Linked DNA regions of Homo sapiens: region 1 is linked to region 2. Evidence: promoter capture Hi-C in 16 types of primary human blood cells and fetal thymus (Javierre and others, 2016). All regions are on one chromosome and are shown on one strand. The core of a region is centred on a gene start or on the middle of the fragment in contact, and the rest is flanking DNA. Distances in the headings are between cores, read along the strand shown. Region 1 holds the start of KDM2A (lysine demethylase 2A). Region 2 holds the start of PITPNM1 (phosphatidylinositol transfer protein membrane associated 1).

Region 1 (6,408 bases), core at 2,487-4,986, 390 kb before region 2:
GGGACATCTTTACTTCCTCCTTAACATTTAAGGAGAAATTGGAAATAGTTTAGCTTAACCAGACTAAAGAGTTCTCTTTTCACACCCTAAAGTCTCCCAAAAGAAATGGGTGGGCCGGGCGTGGTGGCGGACGCCTGTAATCCCAGCTACTTGGAGGCTGAGGCGGGAGAATTGCTTGAACCCAGGAGGTGAAGGTTGCAGTGAGCCAAGATTGAGCCACTGCACTCCAGCCTGGGCAACAAGAGCAAAACTCCATCCCAAAAAAAGAAAAGAAGAGAAAATAAGAGAAAAGAAAATGGTGACTGGATTTTCACTCTCAGCATTTGTTGAGTCTTAGCTTTGCTCAAAAAGGCAGTGATTTATTAATATCTTATTAAGATGCCAATTTATTCCAGCCAGGGACCCTGTTCTCAATGCCTCTAGAATGCATTTTTATTTCCTTCTTCCCATATACCATTGTCAGGGTTGAAGCCAGAGAGTTCATAGTTGGGGAATCCCCCAAGCTCTATTCTCCCTGCAAATGGCTGTTTTAGGGCAATGCAGCCTCACAGATCTGTCCTTGCCAATCAGAGCCACTGTGATGGCGGGAGGAATCACTAGCCATCTGTCTACCTCTTATCTCACCCTATATATCTGCTCTGGATTATTAACAAAGCCTGCCTGTGGAGAAACCATTGTGTATATCTGTTTAAATGTCCCGTTCCCCCAACGCAGACTAGTTAACAAATGGTTTCCTACGGCAAAAGAGCTGGCTGCAATCTGACAAATCTTGCTCTACTGGCAGTCCCATTCAAAATAAGTACTACTATTATTGTTCTAGAGCCTTTTTTTGGGGGGGGGGCGGGGAGATGGAGTCTCACTCTGTAGCCCAAGCTGGAGTGCAATGGCGCCATCTCGGCTCACTGCAACCTCCACCTCTTGCATTCAAGTGATTCTCCTGCCTCAGCCTCCCATGTAACTGGGATTATAGGCATGCACCACCACGCCCGGCTAATTTTGTATTTTTTTTTTAGTAGAGACAGGGTTTTGCCATGTTGGCCAGGCTGGTCTTGAACGCCTGACCTCAGGTGATCCACCTGCCTTGGCCTCCCAAAGTGCTGGGATTACAGGCGTGAGCCACCGCGCCCGGCCTGTTCTAAAGCCTTTCTAGGGTTCTCCCAGCATGCCCATCTGAATTAAACTTGGAGGTATCTGATTGCCAAGGGTGTGCAACTCACCTCCTTGAGGGTTAATTACTTAAGGGGGTCTGAATGTTAAGAAAAAGGGCAAGACCAAGTTGAGCTACTCCTAGAGACTTTCTCTTTGCCGCCAAGTATTCCCTGGGTTATAAGGGTGAGTGGGAAGGAAATAAAGCTGTTTATTTTGCAAATAGCAACAAGGCCCAACACTTAATCTGACAATGGCAAAAGCTTTCTCTCCTGCTTAAAAAACAAACAAAACGAGCTGCTGACTTTTTCTATAACTACAGAGAGCCAGATGCTTATGGGGCCATATCTGGTAGCACCAGTGTGAGAGACTGCTGCTTTTAAAATATACTTTACCATAGTCGGAAAGATTTAAAGAGGCTTTAGATCTGATACAGTTTCTGTGATTATCTTCTTCGTATCAGTGCTCTGAAAATCTAAGAAGTCTGAACAAAACTGGTATCAAAATAAAGAATATTTCCCAGTGACTAGAACGCAAGAAGATGATATCTTATTAACAAACCTTTTTTGCTGTTTGTGAGATGTTTCAGTCGGCTGTTGGAGTAATTATGCAAGCTCTTTAACCTTTCTATACTTCAGTTGTCTATCTTTAAAATGAATATAGCGCTAACAGGCACTTTAGCTTGTCTCCTAAGGATGTTGTGAAACAAAGCAGAGAATGTCTGTACAAACTCCCCAAGTTGTGCATGCAGAAAAACCTTCTGTGGTAATAAATAATAATACCTTGCATTTACGTAGCGCTTTTACCTTGGAGTTCAAGCCTTGATAGAATTAGAAGGTATCATTATTTTAATTGTCTCGCTAACGTCCTCCTGAAAGAGTTGATGGCTGTTTATGCAGGTTATATGATTCACTCCATGCCCTACCTCTCTGCTCCATTCCCTGCTTCCAGGAGTCAGAGCTTAAAGAGTGGGAAACCAAGGCAGGGAGAAAAAGATTTGTGTGACACCGCTCAGCAAGGGCGTAGTGGAGCCAATAGTGCCAACCCCGATGTGTAACGCCCCAGCCACCGTCCTTTGTGGGATTTAGAATTTAAACGGGCCCCAGAGCAAGAGATTGGCTGGGGAAATGCCCGGATCGCGGCTGGGCTGCTCGCATGGCACTGCTCGGGTACCTCCGGCCGGGCTCCGTCGACGTTCGGAGCCTGCTGGCCCGTCGGGCAGCTGTCGGGCCGCGGGAGTCGGTCCGTGGGCAGGGCCGGCGCAGCTCGGGCGGCTGCTGCCCCGTCGCTGACCCCCGCGCGAAGCTGCGCGCACCAACAGGAGACATCTTCCCGGCCGGGCCTCCCGCGCCCGCCACGGCCCAGGGCGGCAGGGTCGGGCCGGGGGCCGGGGGCGGCCCGCGCACCCCTCCGTGGGGGGCGCCCCGACTCGCCGGGGGCGGGGTCACGTCCCACCCGGGCCGCCGGGGGCACCGGCGCGGCGGAAAGCTGAGCGTGGCCGAGGAGCGGGGGCTTCCTGGGCCACCTCGCCGGGCGCCTCCGGCCGGCGGTGGGCGCGCCGGCCGCCACCGCCCCCGGGCCGTCGCGGAGACCGCTTCTGCGCCTGGTACCTGTGGACGCCCTTGTTAAGCGCCTGCAGCACCCCCGGGGAGCCGAGCCCAGGACAGACATGCTACTCCTGTTTCCTGCCCCTTCGGAGCGACGAGCAGTGGGTGAGGCGGGGCCAGGCCGCTGCACCGAGGAGCCCCCGGGCCCAGGGCAGACGGGCCCCGTGGCGGCGGCGCCGGGGCCTGCCCGGGAATGGCGGGCAAGCCGGCCTCGGCCCACCGGCCGGCACGCGAAGGGAGGGCAGCCGGCGGCCATGCGCCCCTTCCCTGCGCCCTCTCGCCCTGGGCAGGCCTGAGCCGGGAGCCCAGGTCCCGCGGGCCCAGCCCGGCGGCTTGACCCCGGGAGACCCTGCTTTGAGGCGGGTATCGGTTGCCCTGGCCCAGGCCTCCCGGCCCTCAGGTTGTGTGACTGTGACGGGCAGCCTGGGGCCAAAGGCGGTTGAAGGGGAAGGGGACGCAGATCTCCCACTGCTTGGGGGGGGTGATGTGCTTTGTGGGGGGTCGGGGGTCACCACCCTCCCAGGGGGGTGGGGGAGGGCGGCCAGCACAGCTGGCCGCGAGGGGCGGGGTCGCAGAGGCGAAGTGTGTGTGAGGGTGTGTGGGGGGAGGGCGCGCGGAGGAGGATCGGTGCCCTGCGCGCAGGCGCGAGCAGCCAGCCAGGCCCGAGCCCTGGAAGAACGCCGACGGGGAGCGGGGGCGGCGGGCTGGCGGGAGGGAGGGAGGGCGGGCGGCCTGACGCGAGGGGGCGCAGGGAGCCGCGTCGGCGTCGCGGGGCGCGGGCGATTCGAGGCCGACGCATCCGCGCGTGCGCGCGCCGGCGGTGTGTCCGCGTTAGAGGGGAGTGACGCGTGCGCGTTCACGCGCGCCCGGGAGAGCGGTAAGAAGCGCAGGGAGGCCTGAAGGGGGTGGGGGGGTGGAGAGGCGAGCTGGAGGAGGGGTGGGGAGGTGGCGCCTGCGCAGTGCGCCTCGGAGGAGCTGTGTGTATGTGAGAGTCTGACGGGTTCAAAATGGCGGCGGCTGCTTCAGCGGCTCCTCCTGTGTGAGGGAAACAACACCCCTCCCCGGCAGCGGCGGCGGCGGCGGCGGCTCTCGGAGCACCTTCCCAGCGGCTGGGCCCGTGGCCGCTCTGTCTTTCCTGGGCAGGGGACGCTCCGGGAGGAGGGGCAACGCCAGGGGGCCCATCCCCCGGAATCCCTCTTCTGCGACTGGGGAGTAGCCGGGGGGCTCGTCCCGCAGCGCGGAGCCAGACCTGAGGGGGAGACGCGAGGGGAGCCAGGGCCCCCATCCCGGCGCGCCGCGCCGCTCCCGCCCTGTCCGCCCCCCGGGGCCGGGGCCCGCGTTCCGGGGGGCCGGGGCGGCGCGGGGAGCCTCGGGCCGGCCGGTCTCAGCTGATCGGCCGCTGCTCCCGCAGGCGACCAGCCCCTGCTGGCCGAGGGCACGGCGAGGAGGGCGCTCCCTGCGGCCGGGGCCGGCCCGGGGCTCGGGCCCGGGCTGCTGACCGCTGGCCTGGGGGAGGCGGGGGCGCCCCGGGCTCGGCGCCGAGGGGTCGCGCTCCTCTCTCCTGACGCCTCCGACTCCCGGTCTCCAAAGCCAGAAGAGAAGGTTTGATTCAGCAACTGTTTGCTCCCTTTTCCTGGTCGCTCTGACCCTCTCTGGATACTGGGTTGATCCACGGAAAAACCGAAGACGACGTTTGGGATTTAATTATTCCTCTCAGCTTTGGAATCTTTTACTTCTCACTTGGACAAGAACTCAAGAGCAGAATCTCCGGTGAGTTTCCCCCTCCCCCCCCTCATTTGGAAGTTTGGTTGACTGTGTTATCCAAAGACTGAATGCAAAGTTTCTATCTCTTTTTCCGATGGGTGAACCATTGAAACGCCTTTTCCTGGGGGAGCCCAGCGAGATTCGCCCTTTTTCCTCTCCGGCCCTGGCTGCTCCATGCCCAGGCGGTCGTCGCCCAGGGGGTGCAAGCACGGTTTCCCTCCCGACTTCGGGCCAGGGCTTCCTCCGGGAGGGCTCTGCCTCTAACTGCTCTGCAAACTGTGTCATCGGGTCCTCTGGTCTCGTAGCAGTTTTGAAAGGATGCTGTTAACGTGGCTGTAATGTAGTGACAAAAACGGGGGGAACCTGTGTTCTCAATGGAAGCCATTATCCACGAGAATATTTAGAAAAAAGAAAACCCTTTCTTGGTATTACGGATTGACCGTCGCGCCGGCCGGTCTTTTATTTAATTTTTGGACAAGATGTATTTTCCTTGTATCCTTAGATGCAATCGTTTATTTTATTACTTTATCCAAAAAGATCAGATGGAATTTTGGTCCTTGATTTGCACCTCTGAAATTTGTTTCAGAGTTGTGCACATCTTGTGTTGGGGTGGAGGGTAGATTTGGGAATGATAAGATCCGGGGAGTCTAGAAAGGAAGGCGACGATTGTGCACGGCCTTACAGGAGGGGTATGGGAAATTGTTTTGGGGTCATTTAAATCCTAATTTTTTGTCCTCTTTTTACATAGTCAGTTTGCCCTTCTTTCCTTTAGTTTCTGATTACCGGTGAGAGAGAACTAATTTGGTTAGGATCTGGATTAGTTCAGTGGTGCTTCACCTGGTCAGCTCTCTGGAGATAAAAGTCCTGGGCTTTTTTTTTTTCTTGCTGATGCTGCCATGAAGGAGATCCTTGCTAGTTGTAATCCTGTGGGGAGAAACTGGTGGTGTGGCCCTTCCACAAGGAACTGAAACCAACATCTCGTTTCGTCTAGGCCTCCGACAGTTGTAATGTGATTAATGTTGAACATGACATGGAACCACTTGCCCAAGAGCAGAAAGGTCCCAAACTCATGAAGAGGAACCTGATTTTTCAGAGAGCCTTTAACACTTACCTTAAATACTCCTTTCCGTGAACAGAAAGCACAAGTTTGAGAATGAGTTCTCATTTCTGCTTATATCATTATTCTTTAGTGTTGCAATCTGGTTCCTAAGGAGGAAGAGGAAGGCAGCCCTGGAGTGGTTTCTTTACAGTAATTTCAACAGAAGAGTGAGAGATGGAACCCGAAGAAGAAAGGATTCGTTACAGCCAGAGATTGGTTAGTATTTTCTCCCCCCACCACACCCTCCAGTTTTAAAGTAGGATAACTATTTTGTTTCCAGTTGTGAATATACTGTGAATCTGTGATTAAAACTTTTCGGGTGACTTTTCTGTGCACCAGAGGAGGGGGAAAGGTGTATTAATATCGAATTTGGCTTTTGGCCAAACATGTTTTATATTTTATATATTTATCTTGTTTGGAAATGGAGTTATATGTAGCCTTTAGCTTTTATAGAAACCATTGTATACCAAAGGATTTTGTGGATTACAATGTGACAAAGATTCCTGATTTTACAGTACTGACATTGTAATACATCTGATTACGTTAGATTAGAATATAAATTTTGGGGGCAAAGCTGTTTGAGGAAGGATAGTTCAATACGTTTTTTAAGATTTTGTTGTCCCAGGATTTGTGACTTTGAGCGGGGAGAACTATGGATTATTTTCTTTTATTTTATAAATTAACATTTTGGTAGCTTTGAAGGGTTGTTGGGATTGATTGAAGACAAGTAGGTAGAATACTGGATGCTGATAAAGTTCTGTGTTTTGGGAGGAATGTACGAGATAGATCTTG
Region 2 (6,305 bases), core at 3,734-6,233:
ACCAGGCCTGGCGGTGGGCCCGCAGCATCACCCGACGCAGACCTGCAGGTGCCCAGGCGTCAGAACTGCCCCCTCCCCCTGCTTCCCTGCCACCGCAGCTACATGCCCAGCCTTGAGGTTGGATAATGGCTCCCCTGGGGACACCACCCACCCAGAGCCACAAAGTAGGGCAGGGCCAGTGCAGTCCAGGAATGGGAGTGGAAAGTGGGGCATTTGTCTTCCTGCCTGACTCCCCCCCGCCCACTGCCTTTCCTGTCTCTCTGCACACCCTAACTCTCAGCACTGTCCCCACCCCATCACTCCAGAAGCAGGGACCAATGCTTGTTCTTGCTTTTGGCTGGCTTCCTGCTGACTTCTGAGGAATTAACAGTTAATTAAGGGTTTAACAGTTAATGAAATTGTTGATGGTTAATGAAGGTGTTAACAGTTAATGGAAGTGTTGGCACTCAATGAAGGTTGTAGCGAAAGATGATACCCATTCTGGGATATTTTTATCTTAAGCAGAAGAAAAAGTTAGAAACTCTTAAATGTCTAGGAAATAAAGTAATGATGGTTGAATGATAATTATAAACTTCTGCGAGGAGATATATTGGAATCTTAGTAGTGGCTATATTTTTCTTATTTGTGCTTTTTGGCATTTTTCCAAATGCAAGACAAGGCGTCCTCATTATTCTCTAAGCTGAATTTCCTCACCTGTAAAATGGGAATAATCATCGTCATTACCTGGTGGGGTGTTGTGGGTGTTAAGGGAGATCTTGCACAAAAAGTAATTAGCCATGGGTCTGTGTGTCGCAATCACTGTCAGTATTAGCTCTTCATATCTGACTCAACCTCTTCCTCATTTACTGAAGAGAAATTTAAAGTGCAGAGATGGCCAGTGCCTTGCTGGAGGTACCATGGGGTGGGGGTCAGTAGTGGGACAGAAGCCAGGCCGCTGGTCTCTCCAACTAGGGACCATCCCTCTGTGTGCAGATGACCTGGGCACTGAGGCAGGGCTGAATTGTAGGCGTGGTGGGGTCAGGTTGAGGGGAGGTGTGGGACTGGGGCTCCTGAACACCAGGGCCAAAGGCTGGAACACTAGAAACTGGGAGTGGAGGTGGGGAATCCCAGAGAGAATGACATCAGAGTCACAGCCTCAGCCTGCACTCCTTAGCATGCTGCCAGTTAGAGCCGGTGACCTTCCTGAGTGTCTCTAAGTCTCATCTAACTCATAGGATGATGGAGAATCTTAGAATCTTAATGGAAGCAGCAGCATTTCTGAATGTCAGAGCCAGTATGGACCTTGTAGATCATGTTACCAGCTTCCTGCTCTGTGGATGCCTGGCTAGGCTGTGCGGCCGCTTCTGCCCTAGTGCTCCCCACCTCAAATGGAAACGATGGCTTTCTGCTTCTGTGTCCCCAGTGGATGGGAGCATCCCTGGCCCTAAACATGGGGTCTGGGGCATGCTGGGTAAGTGGGACCTCCCGCAGCTGGGTGCTCACCTACATCATGGATGAACTGCTCGATCTTGGCTTGCATGCCCCAGTAGCGGAACTCAACCTTGCACAGCTTATAGGCACACATAAGGGGCCCCGTCTGTGCCGCCGTCCGTGCCCAGTCATCAGACAGTGGCCCTCGGCCCGTCTTGACCGAGTGATAAAGCCGGGGGTCCTCTTCTGCTTTGTACTCGCCTGGGGCCACTGCATCCCGCACGATGTCGATGGTGTCTGAGGGAGTTCGGCAAGCATTGAGCAGCGCCAGCCCCTTTGAGCCCCCGCTCCTGGCACCCTCTTGGGACTGGATGACAGTTCCCGTCCTTTTGCAGACAGGACATGAGGCCTGGAGAGGGCTGGGACTTCTCAGAGGCTGCCCACTGAGGCAGCCAGGAGCCTGAGAGGGGCGCCAGGGTCCCCCCATAGCTCCAGGCCTCACCCAGGATGCGCTGTCTCCTCTCGGCCCCGCTCAGGTTGAAGACGTTTGGCTGCTGCCCCCCATCAGGCAGGTAATAGGTCTCAATTTCAATGGAGAATTTCTCCACGAAAGGGCAGGTGTACCTGGGCAGAAGGCACGGGTGAGGCTCACTGCTGTACCCACCAGGGCCGCTCCCCTCCTGGCCTCGGACCATGCCCAGCTCACCCACTCACCGGGTTCGGGTGTAGGGGTAGGCATTCCAGGATTCCTCTTCTACCTGCAGGGCAGCCTTGGGCAGCAGTGCCCGGAACCAGCCTGGGATGTGGGAGCCCACGTGGTACACCTTGTGTGTGTATTGCCCGCTGCCCCCGGGCCCATCCGTGTAGGGCCGGTTGGCCAGGATCTCCACGCCGCTGCCCTCACCACTAGACTCCTCCCGGCTCTTTTTCTGTGGCCCAAGGGAGAGCAGGACAGGGAGCTCAGCCCCAGCTTAGCATCTGGGATCCCCAGCTCAGCCTGGTGTTCTACACAGCTCTGGGGCCCTGGTCCCAGCCTTTTCAACTCCCTGAAACCAGACCCCGCCCCACCAAAGCTCCCTGGGATCAGAATCACAGATGCAGCCCAGCCCCGCATGGGGTCTGCAACCCAGCACTCAGTTGAGTCATTCAAGTATTCATTGAGTGTCTGCTCCACTCCAGGCAGTGTTTGGGATTATATCAATTGAGATATATTGATGAATAGAACAAAGATCCCTGCCCTCGTGGAACTTACATTCTAGTGGAAGGAGACAGACAAAAGGAAAAAGCAAATTATGTGGTGTGTTAGAAGGCGCTAGGTGCTATAGGAAAAGAAAGCCTAGAGTAGGGTATAGGTGATGAGGGTTGGGGGCTGCAGTTTTGATCTGATAGTCAGGGAAGGCCTTGCTAATAACACAATGTGACCATGGCTTGAACATGACTTTAAGGAGGTGAGGTAGGAGGAGGTGCTCAAGGCCGGGGGAAGCCAGTGCAGCCCCAAGGTGGGAGCATACTGGATGTGCTGGCAGGTGGCAAGGAGGCCGGGGTGGCTGGCAAGGAAGAAGGGACTAGGAGAGGAAAAGGGGCCTCCAGCTCTCAGAGGCCCTGACCCTGGCCCCCTCCCTCTCTGGGAGGCCCTGGCCGCCTCCCAATCCCAGCTCCGCCACACCCCTCAGAGCTTGAGAGCCCCCAGATCCTGCCTTCTATTGCTCCGGGGCTCAGATGGCCCTTTCAAGCCCGAGGCGGGGTCCGGGCCCTCTTGCTTTATGAGATTCTGGTCCTGCTGTGCTGGGGACAGATCTGGAGCAGACTCCCCCAGGCCCCGCACCAACCCGGCCACTGCTGAGGGCCTGCCCTGGCCCACTCTTCTCACTGCCCTACACCAGAGCCTCCTCGCCCTCCCATCCTTGCTGCCCTGTCCCTGCTCCAGGTTTGACACCTGGTCCTCACCACATCTCCCTGACCTCCAGGGATGGCCAGGACCCTCCACTTCTCCAGACCCCCTCCCGCCTTCCTCTGCCGCGGAGGCCCCCCTCCTCATTCTTGCCGCCTCCTGGGCGCTTTTTCCTTCCCCGATGGGATTACAGATCCTGAGGAGGATTACAGGAGATCAGAGGAGGGCTGGGCACTTAGCGGATGGGAAGCACCACTCGGCCCTCCTGCCCCTCTTCCCACAGTCCTTCCCCATTCCCACATCTGAAGGGGGGCCTCTCTTGCCTCCTCCGGGCTCCCAGCCGGTCCCAGCCCCGGGGCAGGGCTGGCGGGGTCGGCAGGGCTCCACCCCTTGCCCGGGTGCCCTCTCCCCGCCGCCCTCACCTGGATCATGTAGAGCTGGGCCACCTGGTACTCGTCCAGGCTCATGGGCAGCAGAATGTGGTATTCCTTGATGAGCATCCTGAAGGCGCTCGGCGGGCCGCGCGCGGCCTCCGCTCCTCCTGGCGCAGGGCACGGCGCGACAGTCAGTGCGGGGAGGCTGCGCGCGGCCCCGAGCCCTGCGCGCCGGCCGAGGGACTCAGGCCACGGGACCCCATGTCCGGGCCCGCCACGAGGGAGGCAGAGGCGAGCCTAGCACCGCCGCCCGCGCCGCCGGGGCCGGGAGCCGCAGCGAGGCTGAGCGCTGACCTCTTTTCCGCGCAGCCCCCGCCCCCCGCCCGCCCGTCGCCATGGCAACCGCGCGCTGACGCGGGCCCCCCGGAGCGCCAGGCTCCGGCCGGCGGGCGGGAGGGCCACCTCACCTCTCCCGCTGCGACCGCGTCCTAACCCCGGGAAACGGCATCCCTCTGGGCGCGCCCCCGAAGCCCCGGGGCCCCTCCTTCCGGGCCCGCCTTCCGCGACCGGCCCCTCGGGGACCCGCCCCTTGCATCCCCTTCCCGGAGTCGGCGGGGTCCCAAGTCCCCCACTCTCGGACGTCCACCTAGAGCTTTGTTCCCCGAGTGTCTCTGCGCGGAGTGGCCCAGTGCGCCCAGCATCTCTGCCAGGGTTCCCCACGCCCTGCACCCGAACCTACCTTCCGGGACCGGTAATCTCCTCCGCCCTCCAGATCTGCCTTCTTGGGCAGCCGGGTCCTCGACCTCCCCCTCCCAGCATCCTTCCTGGACCCCTGGCCCTCGCCGGCTCTCCACGCGCCTAGGCAGCCACTCCGTCCTCTTCCCAGGGGGTGAGCCCTCCTCAGGCTGAGGCCAGAGTGGCTCCACTTGGTATCCCACGGGCCATGGCCCTGGAGACCCGCTCCGTCCACCTGCGCCCCAGACTGGCACCGAGGTTCCGCTGCAGGCACCCCTCCATCCCCCACTCGCACCCCGCGAGCAAGCGAGAGGCCCCGTTGTCCCCACTTCCCTCTGCTCGCCGGCGTCCCGGTCCCCTGCCGCGCTCTTGGCCCGCCTGCCGACGCCCCGGCTCACCTCTAGCTTGAGGCGGGCGCCCCTCACCCAGCCCGGGCAGGGCCGGCCGGCCCGTGGGTCGGAGCCCGGAGCGCCCCCAGCCCCGGCCTCGGGTTCCAGCGGTGGCCGGACCCTCCCGAGGCGCAGTGCCGGCCCATGGCCCCGACCTTCCTCTCGATCCGCCCGCCGGCGCCCCTGCAGTCCCTCCCCGACGCCCGCCGCGTCACTGCGGCCGCCCCGCCCCCTTCCTGGGCCCGGCTGGCCCTCCCCACCCCGGCGGGGTCCGGGCAGCCCCGCCTGCAGCGGAGGAGGCAGGGAGGGAGGCCCCTGCCTTCCTTCCCCCGGGCAGTGGGAAAAAGGCCATTGCCTAAATTCTGGCTCTTCCTAGTCCCTCTGTGCTGATTGGGGTCCCCAAAGACTCTTAGTTCCTATCTCCACCCTAGCCCAGCCCTCCTGTGTGCAGTCACAGGGTGGTTTGATATGGGGGGTCCCAGGCCCACTCTCCTCTTCTCACTCTCTGCAGTCCTTAGATTTGGGACCCAGGGTTGAGGAAATGCCTCCCCACCAGTCTAGCCAGAAGCTGGTGGCTCTGACATGCCTCCACCTAGGGCTGGGCTCGGCTCCAGGGCCCCAGGCCTCTATGGTCACCCAGCTACACGCCCAGGCAGAAACGGGCTGTCACTGTGAGTGGCTGGGCTAGCCCCTGCATGGTGCCACAAAGCCTCCCCCACCTCTGCCTTCCGGGTCCACAAGTCCGGTCACCCAGCCACCCGGAGTCTGGGCAAAGGCCTCACGAGGCACCCCAAGGCTGGGTTCATGGGATCCCACCCAGCCTGCTACAAGGTGCTGGGGCAGTGACGGCAGCACCCCGCCAGCCCCTCCCCTTGACACTGAGGCCAAGTGCTGGAAGCAGCAGTGCCCTTTCTCTCTGAGAAGTCAGAGACCTTCAGGGCTGATTCAGAGGCTGGGGTGTTGTCAGGGCATTAGGGCGTGTGAGGGAGTGGCTTACGTGAACTGGCATTTCCATGCTGCCAGGCATCACCGCCAATCCAGAGGAAGCGCCCTCCAGGCCCAGGCTGCCCACAGCGCCAAGGGCTGTGGAAGCAGCCAGGCCCTGTGCTGCCCCCTGGTGGCACCACAGGAAGGCCCAGGGCTCTCAGCGCCACGGCTGGGGCGGAGAGGGCCCAGGTCCCACCAAAGGCTGATGGCCTACAGAGGCAAGTCAAACCTCATTTAATCACACCCTCCCCATCCATAGTCTCCTCTTCCCCTGTCTCTGCCTGGCCCACCCAGGCTTAGCTGAAGAACCAGACCCAGAAAGGCTCAGAGCTGAGAGCACAACTCCAAATCATCTTTTATTAATATAAAAAGGGCATATTTAGCAAAAGACACACAGATAAAAGAGTCACTATGGCTCAGGACACAAGGCAGGGAGGTGCCAGGCCTGTGCCCCTGCTGGGGGAGAAGGAGGCTCGGGACAAAGTGGGAGAAGTGCTGGGAAGGGCTGAGCGGTAGGGG

Evidence for each region. Contacts are between HindIII fragments. The CHiCAGO score rates a contact against its expected background, and 5 or more counts as called.
Region 1: a contact is called between the fragment with the promoter of KDM2A here and the fragment with the promoter of PITPNM1 in region 2, in 2 of 17 cell types (neutrophils and activated CD4 T cells). The highest score is 5.8, in neutrophils.

Annotation. Positions count from the first base shown.
Region 1 is chr11:67,115,527-67,121,934 of GRCh38, forward strand. KDM2A (lysine demethylase 2A) reads left to right here and starts at 3,737. Exons shown (of 21, transcript NM_012308.3): 1 at 3,737-4,523; 2 at 5,708-5,832. The coding sequence starts at 5,791. LOC107984341 (a long non-coding RNA gene) reads right to left here and starts at 2,822. Exons shown (of 2, transcript NR_160735.1): 1 at 1,708-2,822. RefSeq lists silencers at 2,644-2,693, 2,834-3,113, 3,294-3,733, 3,874-3,943, 4,124-4,263 and 2 more and an enhancer at 3,174-3,223. The HindIII fragment of the contact is 9,806 bases long and covers 1,408-6,408 here.
Region 2 is chr11:67,500,380-67,506,684 of GRCh38, forward strand. PITPNM1 (phosphatidylinositol transfer protein membrane associated 1) reads right to left here and starts at 4,984. Exons shown (of 24, transcript NM_004910.3): 1 at 4,809-4,984; 2 at 3,724-3,842; 3 at 2,125-2,339; 4 at 1,913-2,034; 5 at 1,483-1,707; 6 at 1-42. The coding sequence starts at 3,801. It overlaps CDK2AP2 (cyclin dependent kinase 2 associated protein 2), which reads right to left. Exons shown (of 4, transcript NM_005851.5): 4 at 6,118-6,305. RefSeq lists enhancers at 2,693-3,442, 3,443-4,192 and silencers at 3,971-4,070, 4,151-4,270, 4,281-4,440, 4,651-5,280. The HindIII fragment of the contact is 23,305 bases long and covers 1-6,305 here.